Regions from separate parts of the Homo sapiens genome. Here regions 2 and 3 are each linked to region 1. Evidence: promoter capture Hi-C in 16 types of primary human blood cells and fetal thymus (Javierre and others, 2016). All regions are on one chromosome and are shown on one strand. The core of a region is centred on a gene start or on the middle of the fragment in contact, and the rest is flanking DNA. Distances in the headings are between cores, read along the strand shown.

Region 1 (4,898 bases), core at 664-3,163:
TAGTAGAGATGGGGTTTCACAATGTTGGCCAGGCTGGTCTCGAACTCCTGACCTTAAGTGATCCACCCGCCTCGGCCTCCCAAAGTGCTGGGACTACAGGAGTGAGCCACCTCGCCCGGCCACATTTTGTAATTATTAACTCCAAGTAAGTGGGACAGAATTTCCAATTTTCCTAGGCAGTCGTCCTAAGGGCTGGAAAGAGCATTGGACAACTGAGCCCGAACATCTCAGTTATGACCTCCAATTTGCCACTATCCAGTTATGTCATTTATAGCAAATCACAACGTTTCTGGGCCTTAAGAGATCCGTGGTTACAGCACCCTTATTTTACTGCTGAAGAAATTGAGCTTCCTTTGAGGTATAACGCTATAAAAAATTAAGCTAGGGCAGGCGCAGTGGCTCACGCCTGTAATCCCAGCATTTTGGGAGCCCGAGGCGGGTGGATCACTTGAGGTCAAGAGTTCAAGACCAGCCTGGCCAACATGGTGAAACCCCGTCTCTACTAAAAATACAAAAAATCAGCCAGGCGTGGTGACGGGCAACTGTAATCCCAGCTACTCCGAAGGCTGACACAGGAGAATCGCTTGAACCCAGGAGGCGGAGGTTGCAGTGAGCTGAGATCGCAACATTGCACTCCACCCTGGGCAACAAGAGTGAAACTCTGTCTCGAAAATAAATAAATAATAAAAAATAAAAATAAAAAACTGTGAGGCTCAAGTCGGTGGCAAAGGGCAGGAGTACTCACTTATACAAGTCGGGTTTGAGAAGCCCTAGTATCACCGAAAGTCTCCCTTTCTCATCTTCATTTTCTCCATGTAGGAATCCTGCCACAGAACCGCATTCAGTAACTTGAAGCAGTGAGGTGAGCACCTCCCTAGCAACTTCCCGAGATCTCGGAGTGGTCCATGGTTGCTCCAAGCTGTGTGTGATGGCAAAAATATAAACGGGTCCTGCCAAGTGATGCAGGCCCGTCTGCCATGCAGGGCCGACCAGGGAATTCTTAGCAGTCTCAACTTTCCCTAACAGTTTAAGAAACAGTAACCCAACTTGGGCTGCTTTCTCGGCCGCTTCGGAGTGCCCATCACCTCCACCTTCCTCCTCCTTGGAGGGGGCTGCATACTTCTCCAGGGCTTTTGCTACCTGCCCCAGTGTCTCCGGCATTCCGCGGAGCCGTGCACCAGTCCCCTCAAATAACCTATCAAATTCTGTGGCTTCTATTAGATCACCGAGGTCTTTAAGAACTGCATCTTTTACATTGCCTCGTCGTGCCTCCGGGCGGGCAAGACAGTGTAAAATCTTGGAGAAGGCCTGTCCAAAGGCGGAGTGAGACAACTCCTCGGACAAATTAGAGTCTTCCTGCGATGGGGCTTCCAGAGCGCTGTCAAGCTCCATTCCTGACTGCAGCACCAGAAGGCTGGTCTCTCCCACAGAACGAGGATGGAGGCGGGGAGGGATCCGTTGAAGAGGGAAGGAGCGATCACCCAAAGAGAACTAAAATCAAATAAAATAAAACAGAGAGATGTCTTGGAGGAGGGGGCGAGTCTGACCGGGATAAGAATAAAGAGAAAGGGTGAACCCGGGAGGCGGAGTTTGCAGTGAGCCGAGATCGCGCCACTGCACTCCAGCCTGGGCGACAGAGTGAGACTCCGTCTCAGTAAAAAAAAAAAAAAAAAAAAGAATAAAGAGGAAAGGACGCAAGAAAGGGAAAGGGGACTCTCAGGGAGTAAAAGAGTCTTACACTTTTAACAGTGACGTTAAAAGACTACTGTTGCCTTTCTGAAGACTAAAAAGAAAAAAAACTTAAAAATTTAAAGAAATAAACTTCTGAGCCATGTCACCAACTTAACCACCCCCAGGTACCTGCAACGGCTCGCGCCCGCCGGTGTCTAACAGGATCCGGACCTAGCTCATATTGCTGCCGCAAAACGCAAGGCTAGCTTCCGCCAGTACTGCCGCAACACCTTCTTATTTCACGACGTATGGTCGTAAAGCAATAAAGATCCAGGCTCGGGAAAATGACGGAGAGGTGGAACTATAGAGAATAAATTTGCATATATAATAATCCGCTCGCTAATTGTGTTTCTGTTTTCCTTTGCTAAGGTAGAAACAAAAGAATAATCACAGAATCTCAGTGGGACTTTGAAAATATCCAGGATTTTATACGTGAAGAATGGATGTATCGCATTACGGTAGTCACCCTATGTGTAAATTAGTGGCACATACTTGGCACTCCTTAATGTCAACTATAAGATGATCCTTTTGTAGTTCATGAGCGTGATGATTGGGTGTTCATACGCTTGTGTGAGATGTGCCACCCTTGAACCTTGTTACGACGTGGGCACATTACCCGTCTGACCTGAACTTCAAGGATCGATTTAACACTTGTATTTGTGGGCTTGTTACTTATGATAACAGGTGGCCTAGTTTCATGGCTTTGTGTTTACCGTTTTCGGGTGCCCTTTTTTCTGGCTGTATGCTACACGCACGGGTGCTTTTCCGTTGTCCAACTGTGTAATGTGTTTTTGTGTTTGTTCTTTTGTGAGTCGGAGTCTCGCGTTGTCGCCAGGCTGGAGTTGCAGTGTTGCGATCTCGGCTCACTGCAACCCCCACCTCCGGTTTTCGAGAGATTGTCCTACCTCAGCCTCCCGAGTAGCTGGGACTATAGGCGCGCGCCACCACGCCCAGCTAATTTTTGTATAAATATTGGCAAGGATGGTCTCGATCTCTTGACCTCGTGATGCGCCCGCCTCGGCCTCCCAAAGGGCTGGGATTACAGGCGTGAGCCACCGCGCCTGGCCAATGCAGAGCTTTTTAATGGCTTTAATTTTTTAGGTTTGGGAGATACCTGCGCAGGTTTGTTACCTGGATATGTTGTGGGATGCTGGGATTTGGAGTGCAGCTTAGCCCGTTTTCATTGCCCCCTCTAGTAGACCACAGTGTCTGTTGTTGCCACTTTTATGTCCACGTGTTCCTAATGTTTAGCTCCCACTTATGAATGAGAGCATGCGGTATTTGGTTTTCTGTTCAATGCAATACTTTAGCTGGTTTCTGGAGCTAGCGTTTTAAAGCCTGTAGCCACAAGCGTTTGAAAATTCAAATTCTAGCGTCAAGGTAGAAGCCCCCAGCTGGCGTCTGGGGCAGCCCTGAGGGAGGTGGGTCGTCGGGTTGGCGGATCCGGCTTGGGCCCGCCCCGCCAGTGTCGGCGCCGGGTGCGCAGGGACAGCAGAGCGCTGTCTTGGGCATGGGTCGCAGGCGGCGCCCGGAACGGGCCAGGGGAGCTGGAGGCTGCAGACTCGGGCTCGGCGGGTGTAGGAACCAGTGGTGTTTGCTTGGGTTTTGAGAAGGCGCGAGAAGGGTCGCGCCTGTGCGACCGCCCTGTGTTGGGTCCCCCACGCCGCGTCGGCATTGCTTGTTCCCTCTTCCTGCGCTTTCCTGGAGGGTAGAATTGCGTCCGATTGGCCTTCAGTTCCCGAGGAGCTGCTTCCATTTAGGACCTTGTGACTCTCATAGCTTCCACGGTTTCGCAGGAGCCCGAGGAGGCAAACTTCATTTGTGCCACTGCACAGGCGGGAGCTTCGGACCCTGGGAGGGGTGGCGCGAGAGAGACGTGTCGCCAGCTGCTCGGAGAGGGACTCTTATTCAGCCTCTAAGGCGTCAATTGCGCCTCCAGGGTTCCAGGAGTCCAGAGAAAGCCCTTCGGGGTCTTCTGACCTGGGGTAGGGTGAGGGGCGTGTGTGCGCGCAGGGGCGAGGGAGGGGTGACGTGTCAGGTGTCCTTTGTCCTCGCGAGGAGGTGGTTATGGGGTAGAGGGACATACAGTATTTTCGTCCCACCTTGGGGAGCGCACCAGCTTCTTGGTGCACTACTTGCAACTGTCCCATCTGCGGTGTCTTGCTGCCTACTCGCCTGCCCTTCTTTCCATTTTGCTGTCTGACCTTGGGCAAAAGTTCGGTAGCCTCTCTGTGCCTTCATTTCTTTTTATTTTTTATTTAATTAAAAAATATTTTTTTAGAGACAGGGTCTTGCTCCGTGGCCCAGGCAGGAGTGCAGTGGCGTCATCGTATCTCACTGCAGCTTCAAACTCCTGGGTTCAAGCGATCCTCCCGCCTCAGTCTCCCAGTAACTGGGACCACAGGCGCGCCCTACCACACCCTACTAATATTTTCTAATTTTTTTGTAGAAATGGGGTCTCGCTGTATTACCCAGGCTAATCTCGAGCTCCTGGCCTCGCGATCCTCCCTCCTTGGCCTCCTAAAGCGCTTAGATTACAGGTGTGAACCACCCACCTCGCTGGTGCCTTAATTTTTTTTTTCTTTTTCTTTTATTTTTCCTTCCTTCCTTCCTTCCTTCCTTCCTTCCTTCCTTCCTTCCTTCCTTCCTTCCTTCCTTCTTCCTTCTTCCTTCTTCCTTCTTTCTTTTCTTTCTTGTCTCCCTGTCGCCCAGGCTGGAGTGCAGTGGTGTGATCTTGGCTTATAGCAACCTCTGCCTCCCAGGTTCAAGCGATTCTCATGCCTCAGCCTCTCGAGTAACTGGGATTACAGGCACCCACCACGCCCAGCTAATTTTGTATTTTTACCAGACACGGAGTTTCACCATGTTGGCCAGGCTGGTCTCTAAATCTTGACCTCAAGTTATCCACCTGCCTTGGCTTCCCAAAGTGCTGTGATTACAGGCGTGAGCCACCTCGCCCAGCCACCTTAATTTCTTTATCGGAAAAATGCAGGTAGTAATAATTCGTACCACTTAGGAGTGTTGTGAGAAAGGAATTATATGTAAACTGCTTAGAACAATATCTGGTCAGCAGAAAGTTCTACATAGGTGTTGGCTCATGTTAAACCACAGCTCCTGTGTTGTTACATTTCCTCTTTCCAGGGTAATTTTGTGGTTAGGACCCTCCC
Region 2 (4,898 bases), core at 1,211-3,710, 4.9 Mb before region 1:
GGCTTCATGGCCTCTAGGCTGTCTTAGCTCATTAACATCTCGCAGTTAAACTGGAAAGGCCAGAAAGGTGTTAAACAGAAACAAAAACACTGTAATCAATTTGGTTTGACTATATTTAACCGTTTAGCTTTTCTTTTGTTTTCTTTTCTTTTTTTTAAGAGATAGGGTCTCACTCTATCACTCAGCCTGTAGTACAGTGATGTAATCATTAGCTCACTGCAGCCCTGAACTCCTAGGCTCAAGTGATCCTCCTGCCTCAGCCTACTAAGTAGCTGGGGCTATGGTGGGCACCATCATGCCTGGATAACTTGCTTATTTTTGTAGAGACTGGGTCTGGCTATCTTGCCCAGGCTGGTCTCTAACTTCTGAGCTCAAGCGATCCTCCCCTCTCAGCCTCCCAAAGTGCTGGGATTTCAGATGTGAGCCACAGTGCCCATTGTTGGCTTTTTGATACATTTAAGATCATGTACATTACTGTTAATTATGATTGTTTTTGTCATTCAGTGTGTGTGATTTTCCAAAGATTACACTTTGAATCTCCAGGTGTGCACTGAATTGTCCCCCTCCTTCCCCACTGACAGGCTGAAGTCCTAAGCCCCAGTACCTCAGAATATGACCTTATTTGGAAATCAGATGATTGCAGATGTAATTAGTTAAGATGAGGGCATGCTGGAGTAGGGTAGGGTGGGCCCCAAATCTAATATGACTGGTGTTCTTATAAAAGGGGGATATATTTGGACACAGGAAAAATGCCACGTGTACATGAAGCTGGCCATCTACAACCCAGGAGAGAGGCCTGAAACAATCTTTCCTCACAGTCATCAGAACTGGAACCAACACTGCCCACACCTTGAACACAGGCTTCCAGCGTCCAGGACTGTGAGACAGCACACGTCTGCTGATTTAGCCCCCTAGCTTATGGCACTTTCTGACAGCAGCGCTAGCTAACCAATACACTCCCTGCTAAATGTACTTTTCCATTTGTGCCCCACCAGGGTTTGCAGACAAGCAAAATTGTCATAGTTCCCTAACGCCTCAGAATGTTTTCTTCCTGGATCACTTTTTATAATTATTACTTACAGTGAGGGAAAACTGAAATATTGCAATGCCATCCACAATTAGGATTAGTCCCAACCACTCAGAAACGTTAAAAACTGATCTAATAAAAATAAAGAACCTTAAGACGCATTAAACTCTAAGCTACTTGGAAGCTGCTTCTTCTGTTTGTGGACACGCAGATTTGCCACAGTTGAAATCACTGGCCACGTGCTGTCTTGTGTGTGTTTGTCACTTAACATCGCATGACAGAAATATTTCCACGTAGTGACAATGTTCATATTCTTATTTAAATAGCGACTTACTAGTCATTTGTTATATTCTCATTTTTCACTACATTTTTGTGTAATTTATTTTTTAACTGCATTTAAACTTTTTCCTCGGGGCATGTACGGGAAGAGTTCTGGATTCCAATTTTAGCCCCTGTCACACAGAACCCCGTTCTTCTCTAGACTGAGCTGACCTGTGGTTTCCCCAGAAATAAAAACGACGCGTGCAGGTTTCTCCCTCCCCTTGACGTCATTTCGTTTGATCCTTTGTAATGATTTTCCCTAGTTTCGAAAGCTTGCCCTAGTCTTAACGCTGTTTTCGCGTTTCCTTATGTCGCTAAGCGGGAGGTAGCCCCGCACTCTAAGCATCCGGCTCATTTTCATGTTTTACCGGACCCCAGCGACCGGCGCCCTCTGCGCTAGGCGCCCGGTGCCGTATAGCCCTCCGCCGTGTGCAGCCGGGTGCTGGTGTTGTTGCAGCGGCGCCCGCCAGGAGGCAGCGCAGGCTCGGCATTGGCTGCGGCGTCCCACAATGCACCGGGCTCTGGGGCCTGCACGACAGTCTTGAACCCAGCTGCGGGGCCGCGAGAAGGCGGGCCCGGGAGCCGGCGAGGGCGGGGCCTCCGAGGAAAGGGCCGGGAGCCGACGCGGAGGCGGTGGGCGGGGCGTTAGGGGGCGGGGCCGGGAGCCGCCGAGGGGGCGGTGGGCGGGGTATTCGGGGGGCGGAGCCGGGAGCCTCCCAGGGGGCAGTGGGTGGGACCGGGAGCCGGCCGGCCGGGCCGGGGATGCGGTGAGCCGAGGGCGGGGCCTCAGGGGGCGGGACCGTGGAGAGGGCGGGGCCGGGCCGCTGGCGCTGTCGCCGGCTGCAGTGGCCGCCGCTGGAGACCGCGGGACCTGGCGCTGCAGCGAGGTAGGGGCTCTTCGGGATCTTCCCTTTCGGGGGTGGGAAGTCTTTTCTTCGTCGTGCCAACGGGAGAAGCGGCGAGCTGCTAAAATTTAGAGACGGCTTCGCACTTCTCGCTGTAGCCCGGGCTTTACCCGGGGGATCGATTTTAAAACTCTTTGTCTGGCCCCGTCGTCCTGCCCGCGGGCCGGACGTGGGGCGCCTGCTCTGGGCGTCTGGGGCGGGCGATTGCAAGCTCGCGGTCCATGTCCCCTGCCTCGGAGTGTGGACGTGAACTCCGGGGTGGGCTGGGCTGGGTTTCTACAGAGGCGGGAATTTGTGAGAACTGGGAGAGTGTGGCTGTCGGCAGGGGTCCGTATCACACTGTGGGCGGGGGTCCCGACCCCTGCTGCCTCGGGTACGGGGTAAGCGGCATCTGCCACGCGCCCGCCTCGCGCGCTGTCAGGAGGCGCTGTCCCCGTGGGTAAGCCCGTGCCGTGGGTGCCCTCCAGTCCCTGCAGCCCCAAACACACCTACCCCAGAGGACACCACAGAATGCGGACCCCAAAGCCAGCCGTACCTGCGAGCCCCTCAGCACAGCTGACTTTAATTTGGGATCCCACAATTTGAGCTTTTCAAAAGTTAAGTTTGGCAGATTGGAAGCCCGGGAATAGGGGGCGCTCGGAATGCTGAGTTTTGTTGGTGTTTGTCCTCAGCCTGTTTCTGGGTCACCCTGCAGGGCTCCATCCGTTCAGTCTCACCCCTTGGTAAGCATGTCCTGTCCTGAAGGCTCCATGCTGAAAGTCTAGACCCCATCTTTGCCTACTTTTCAAGGCTTGGCAAAGCACGTGTGTCTTTTGATCCTTATCCCCCATGTAACATAATTCATGTTTTTAAAGATATGTTTTTATTTAAAACCTTCCCCCTATATTTTCATTCCCATAAATACGAATTGGTTGATTTTACTTGTGAACTCCTTTAGGCATTTAGTAATAAAGGTTATAATTAGGAAAACTGAAAGATATTCATCAGGTAAACATGATCCTCCTTAACAAATTTGCTGCTCGTAAAAGGCAGCAGATGGGAAATCAGGCAAGCTTGGTTTTAAAACGTTTCTGCCTCTGAGAAGGTTGAACTATTAATATTATATTTATTGTTCATTCCAAGTCTAAAATGCTAGCAATGAACTCACATTCCTTTTTTGCTAGACAGTCATACCTGTTGACTTGAGATAATAAGAAAATTCTCCTCATCCCCAGAACTGAAGAAAATTCTTTCCAATTGTTCTCACCTTACCTATCCCCAGGGAAAGGAGATAAGTCTCAGAGTTGTTGGGATTCTAAATATTTTGTTAAGCAGAAATTCCTGCTGGTCCTTAACAAACTCTGAGTACTTTGCTCTGGAATTATCAGTTCTTTTTCAAAATGTGAAATTATGAATTGCCTATTACATACAATATTCCACATCTCACGTTAATATTCATTTAAAAGCATTGTGAGGCCGGGTGTGGTGGCTCACACCTGTAATCCTAGAACATCCGGAGGCCGAGGTGGGAGGATTGCTTGAGCTCAAGAGTTCAAGACCATGCTGGGCAACATGGCGAAACCTCATGTCTACAAAAAATGAAAAAATTAGCCGGCATGGTAGTGAGCACCTGTGGTCTCAGCTACTTGGTAGGCTGAGGTGGGAGGATCACTTGATCCTGGGAGGCAGAGGTTGCAGTGAACTGAGACCACCCCACTGCACCCCAGCCTGGGTGACAGAGTGAGACCCTGTCTCAAAAAATAAAAATCATTTTGTAATTGTGAGTAAAAAGAAACAAATCTTTAAAAGATTAAAAACAAGAAAAAATTAGTATATGTTAGTGATTACCATTTTGACTTCCCTGGAGGGACAATAAACCCAAAAGATAAAACCAAAATCTAGTTATTAATAGTCACCGACACCATAAGAACTAGAAGGCACCATCTGAAGCTTAAAAGGAAGTTTAAAAACATGTTAAATTCAGACAATAACTTTGCACAGTGGTTTGCAAACATCAGTAAACCCAAACCCTCAAGTGATTCCTATGGAAAGACACTGACACTCAGATCAAGAAATTTAAATACAAATTCATGGGCTAACTAAAAAAATAAGCAGATCAAGTATCTCCAGCATCAACTGTGAATACACACACGTTAGGTTAATTTAAAAAATGACCCACTGTTTTTTACAATCTTCCAATGCCTGTATGCTTCCAAAAAGGCACAGCTGGCATACTTTTTGCTTCTAAAGGAGGTAAACTTTAAAAACTGACCCGCAGTTACAGACCGGCACTTAGAGGAGTTAACTCAAACAGGTGAGTGACTCACCAATTACTCATTTTTTCTGCAGATTATTTACCTACTAAGTGCAAGACTGGACTCATAGCTTTAGCTCACTCCTAGTGAAAACACTGCACATAGGATCTATAAATGGAGGCTGTGTCATCAAGACCTCAGAAGTAGGGGCCGGCATATTTCTTAGACACTGATGAAACAGAAACATCTCTCAGAAGAACCATAAAGACATGAGTAGCTCTGTGTTAAAACACATCATTTATTTTGAAGGGAAAAAGGAACGCAGAAAGAACAATAGAGAGGAACTCAGAGCATTTCCTCTGTGGCTTCCCCCTTTGTGGTGCCAATTTAAAACAAAATTATTGTCTAATG
Region 3 (4,898 bases), core at 2,067-4,566, 4.2 Mb after region 1:
CCCTCCAATAGTGGTGGTGTGATGATCTACTTTGACAGAATTGAAGTGGTGAACTTCCTGGTCCCGAACGCAGGTACGTCTTAACAGTTTATTCCCACCACCAGCTCACTTTCCCCAGCATGCCACTCCCGTGTCTGTTGTAGCACCTTGGAAAAGGAGAGCTGCCGTGTCTGAGGGCATTTTGAGTCTTGCCTTTTCTTATGCCAAGCCCTCTCCTTCCCTCTCAGTGTATGATATAGTGAAGAACTATACTGCTGACTATGACAAGGCCCTCATCTTCAACAAGATCCACCACGAACTGAACCAGTTCTGCAGTGTGCACACGCTTCAAGAGGTCTACATTGAGCTGTTTGGTAAGAAAGTCTCTCCTGAGCATGCCGTGCTTAAGCAGGGTTCCTGGAACCCCGCGTCTCTCCACTGCCTAAAGCCTGGCTGCCTGCAGGGTGTGATGGTCACTTATGGACAGGAAATGTTAAAGAATCTTGTGCTCAGGAGCTGGTCACAAAGGAGTTCATGGAGAATGCTGATAGCTATGCAACAAGATCCTTAGAGGGCTGGAGCTTTGGGCACAGGGACCATAGTGGAGTAGAGTATTCACTTCTGGCCTCAATCAGAGGCTGGAGTGGAAATGTGTTCCCACTGTTCCTAAACTATCATTCTATAATGAAGACAAGGTCCATTCTAGAAGAACCTTAGAGATTGTCCAGACCAGCATCCTCATTTTAAGCTGAGGGTACTGTGACCCAAAGCAAGAAAGTCACAGAGCCAGATGCCAATTAGTAGTGGGGCTGAAACAGGAGCCTTCCTCTCCTGGCTCTTCAGCATTCTTCTCACCATGCAACACTGAATGGAGGGCCCCCAGGAATGGGTGATGAAAAAGACATGATTCATAGTTAATTCTAGAAGTGAGATGAGAACCATAGCTCCTTCCAGTTCTCAGAACCTTTGTGATTATTATTTTTTTACTCTGTACCTGTAGCAACGAATAGAAAAACACTTTAAACAAAAAGATTCCACGTGCCTAAGTAGATATGTTTTGTCCTTTTTACCTTTTTCAAAGTAAAGGCAACCTGACTTAGCAGCAAAGGAAGGACACAGTTGGGTAACTGTTATAACTTGTTTGCAGTCAAGTATTCTGTTTAAACTCACTGCCAGAAATTCTCTAATAGCCAATGCCAAAAGTAAATGAATTTTTAACCAATAGTATAACTGTTCTTGACACTAGGACTGGAAAATGATTTTTCCCAGGAATCTTCATAAAAGGGACCCTGAGCAAGAACATTTTTCATAGCAGACAGGAGGACTCATCCACATCGCCAGCAATCATAATTAAGCAAACCGCCTTTTGCACCATTTAAGATTTAGGAAATCATCCAAATTACTTTTAATGTTTCTGCAGTAGAAAATGAATCTAAATTCATTTTATAGGGTTTGTAGTCTTTTATCTGTTTTGGATTCACTGTGCTTTTAAGAAAAAGTTGGTAAATTTGCCGTTGATTTTTCTTTTTAACCTCAAACTAATAGAATTTTATAAAATATTAATTTTCTCTAGCCATTGTCTTAGGACTTGTGACATTACATGAACATTTCAAAGCACTGAAAAAAGACAAAGGATCCCTAATGTCCCTGAAGAGGAAATTAAAATACAAAGTTGTTTTTCATTAGCAAACTTCTTACTTTCTTACAGCTAAACTTGGTAGCTTAGTGAAGTACAGCTGCTTGTATGGAGGAGCTGGGGAAATATATTTGCTTTGAAACTTTTTTATTTTTACATCTCAGTCTTGCTAGCAAGCACTACTTGGCTTAGAATCTGTCATATCCATAAAGGAGGAGCTCATGTCTCTAGTCCTGGCCCTTCAACTCAGAAGGTTCTTCTATACTTTCCTTCTCTCAGGACTCTTATAGCCCAGACTTTAAACATGAAGCTGCATAATTTTCATCACTTCTTACTCTGCCGCATCCTCTTTGCCCATGTTATTAAAGTATTATCTAATACTTTGAAGTTTACCTGAAGAACCTCTTTGTGTGTACTTAGTAATACAACTTTTTTTCCTGTCCCAACACCTTTTAATACAGTTGAATGGATAAAAACATGGATACAAACACATGGATATAGTTATCACTGAAGCAGTGTGACATAAAATAATACCTATGTATACAACACTCCTCTGTAAATAGCAAATGTAAAGTAAAAGATACACAACAGATCATTTTGTTTATCTCACTATCATTTATTAATCTATAATGTATCCCTCCTATGTATCCATGCAAGGAAGCAATACTAGCTGCCCGACTAGAGGGCAGCTCCCTTGGGTTACTTATTCAGACCCCATTTTCATTCGGATCTGAGCTGTCTTACCCGCTCACTGCAACTTGGCTTTTCCTTCTTTGAGTATAAAGTCTGACATGGGATGGCTCACCTATAGCTTCAGTGTGTTAAGTAAAGAAAGCTTTATGCAGATTCTGGTTTTTAGTGGGTCTCCTCTGACAGTAGAAAGATTCAAACCACAACCAATTCCAAGAACCCTTCTAAGAACAGAGACAGAGTCACTTCAAAGGATCTGACTTGCTATACCTAAATATAATTCACGCTGCTTTTCTCTATGACGTACCATAATATTTTGTCCAAAAATCTTGAAACATGTTATTAACTTTGAAGAAAGAATAAAACCAGCCACTTTAGAGACCAGAGACACTCAAGCACTTATCTATTCATAAAGTTTCTACACAGCTGAAGAAGTTTGCATCAAATGGACAAAAAATAGTAAAGAAAATCTAAATACAGAAAAAAAATTAGAGAAAAATCCATCTCCTAGAAAGCAGGTCAAATGGACTCAGTTAAAGACCTCACTGCATGTAGGAGAATCAATGGGAAACAACATAAAGCCTTCTGCTGGGATATAAATAGGAACCAGTCTATGTAATCAAGAAGTTACTTTGTCTCCTGATCTAAATGCTTGCCTCCAGTCTAGGGCTCAGAAAAAAAGCCTGGTTATTTGAACTGGTTGTCAATCAAGGTCCCCTTCATTTTCACTTTCTTGGCTTCCCATTCAGCCAGCTCTTGCAGTGGCCTCTTGCTCATGCCTTTGCGCTCCAGCTGTTTTTCAATCACTTTGGCATTCTGTGCATACGAGTCAGCAACTTCCCTAGCCTCAATCTCCTCTTCCTCTTCATCAATGGTAGACACAGTGACAGAACTGAACTTGCCCATGTCTTTGGTCCGTTTGGTCATCATCACCTTCTTAGGAGGCTCTTGTTTCTGAGTATATATGTTCGTTTTCCCAAAGCCCTGGCCAAACTTGACGACTGCTCCATCCACAATGAAGGTAACGGGAGCATTCTTCGGCTGGGATTGGTAGAAGAGCAGCAGTCCACACTTTGCACATTTCTTTCTGTACTGTAGTTCAATGCCTTCAGGTCTCCGCAGATACATAGTCTCTTCGTCTTCTGTGTTACAAAACTTATGGGCATGTTTGGCAGCATCAATCACACGGGACCGGTCCCGGGGCCTCATGGGCAATTTCTCTAACTGACAGTCCAGCACTAGGACCACCTGGCCGCACAAACAGTAGTACACATGGAGGGGCTTCTCGCCGTCGTCATATTCCTCCCGGTCCCGAGTGTCAGAGCAGACTACTGACCGAGACACTACTTTCGGCATGGTTTCCAGGAGCAACCTGAAAAACTCTACGCAAAGAAGAGGGTCGCGCCGAAATGACGTCACGAGCGCGCCTTGCGCCTTTTCCCTGCGGCTACCTTAGTAATACAATTTAAATGGCATTTATCAACATTTCCATAACATATAAACATCAATATTACTAAAACAACTTGAAAAGTATTTCTTTCACATTTTTCCGGTAAGCTACTAGCCCAGGGCCACAGGTTTCCACCTTGACAGATATAATTTGGTCTGAGGAATGACGTTATTAACTTATGGAGGATACGGGCCATTTAAAGTTTGGTTGGTATTCTACTTAAAATTACTTAAAATATGAAATGTAATATTTAGTTCTAGTTGTTAAATTGGTTGACCCCTGGCAGGTGTGAGGTGCCGACTTGATGGCATTTCTCCTTCGGTGCTCAGAGGCTTGTGAGAGCACATCCTATATGTGGAAACGTTACCGTCCCTTGTTTACTGATACTACTGTCTTAAAATCCTAACAATCAAGGCCCACCAGTTAAACAAGCTTGTTATTTTTGCTACTAGCCAGCTTTCATGGGCCTCCGTTTTGGCATCAGTGAAAGAGCGGAGACTTTCTCTTCCTCAGAGGCTCTTATTTGAGCACAGGTGACCACGAAAGGACCACTTAAAGCAGATGGCGGCTGACAGCAAAGGAGAGATGCAGTGTACAAGTCCCAGCCTGATTTCACTCTGTCTTTTTCTCTAAGCCCCTCCGGGATCTTATCAAGGATATCATGGGCAGAAGGCAAGGAAGAGGATTCTAAAACCTGAGAAGCCCATGCCAGAGAAGTCAGCTTTGGTACTGCTGTTCTGAGATTGCAGCTGGAAAGGAAGGTGGGGGGAGAGTCAGTTACAGCTGTTCCTACATTTGTCTGTGAAACAACTCATGTGGATTCCAGACAAAGAAATCAGGACCAAAGCAAACAGCACATCAAAAGCCTGGGGCTCGCTTCCAGAACTGTAAATTTTAATTTTCCCTTTGTGTTGTTTGATGGAGTTCCTAATAGAAACAGTCTTCCTTGGGGCTCTCCTTGACGTCAAAGTCTGTTTTTCTTTTAGAAACTTCTAAAATTACTAGATTTAATGTGCTCAGCTCTTTCCACAAAACCTAAATAGCCATTCCACCTTCCTTCTTCTTGGAAACTGTGAACCTTCCTTCTCTTTTGCTGCTATTGTCTAGGGAAAGGCTGCTGCCTCACGCAAGAAATGTGCTAGA

What was found. Contacts are between HindIII fragments. The CHiCAGO score rates a contact against its expected background, and 5 or more counts as called.
Region 2: a contact is called between a fragment that was not itself captured here and the fragment with the promoter of TTI2 in region 1, in 1 of 17 cell types (activated CD4 T cells). The highest score is 5.4, in activated CD4 T cells.
Region 3: a contact is called between a fragment that was not itself captured here and the fragment with the promoter of TTI2 in region 1, in 1 of 17 cell types (naive CD8 T cells). The highest score is 7.5, in naive CD8 T cells.

Annotation. Positions count from the first base shown.
Region 1 is chr8:33,511,222-33,516,119 of GRCh38, forward strand. TTI2 (TELO2 interacting protein 2) reads right to left here and starts at 1,914. Exons shown (of 8, transcript NM_001102401.4): 1 at 1,861-1,914; 2 at 746-1,491. The coding sequence starts at 1,392. It overlaps SNORD13 (small nucleolar RNA, C/D box 13), which reads left to right and starts at 2,254; the gene lies at 2,254-2,357. RefSeq lists enhancers at 1,946-2,085, 3,606-3,895 and a silencer at 2,516-2,565. The HindIII fragment of the contact is 19,476 bases long and covers 1-4,898 here.
Region 2 is chr8:28,620,576-28,625,473 of GRCh38, forward strand. It overlaps a transcript of EXTL3 not described here. Among named protein-coding and RNA genes, the nearest start is that of EXTL3-AS1, 78 kb to the right of the region's middle. RefSeq lists silencers at 1,565-2,001, 1,923-2,182. The HindIII fragment of the contact is 1,685 bases long and covers 1,619-3,303 here.
Region 3 is chr8:37,744,344-37,749,241 of GRCh38, forward strand. It overlaps ERLIN2 (ER lipid raft associated 2), which reads left to right. Exons shown (of 12, transcript NM_007175.8): 5 at 12-73; 6 at 228-353. It also overlaps the pseudogene LOC728024. Among named protein-coding and RNA genes, the nearest start is that of ERLIN2, 10 kb to the left of the region's middle. The HindIII fragment of the contact is 1,737 bases long and covers 2,449-4,185 here.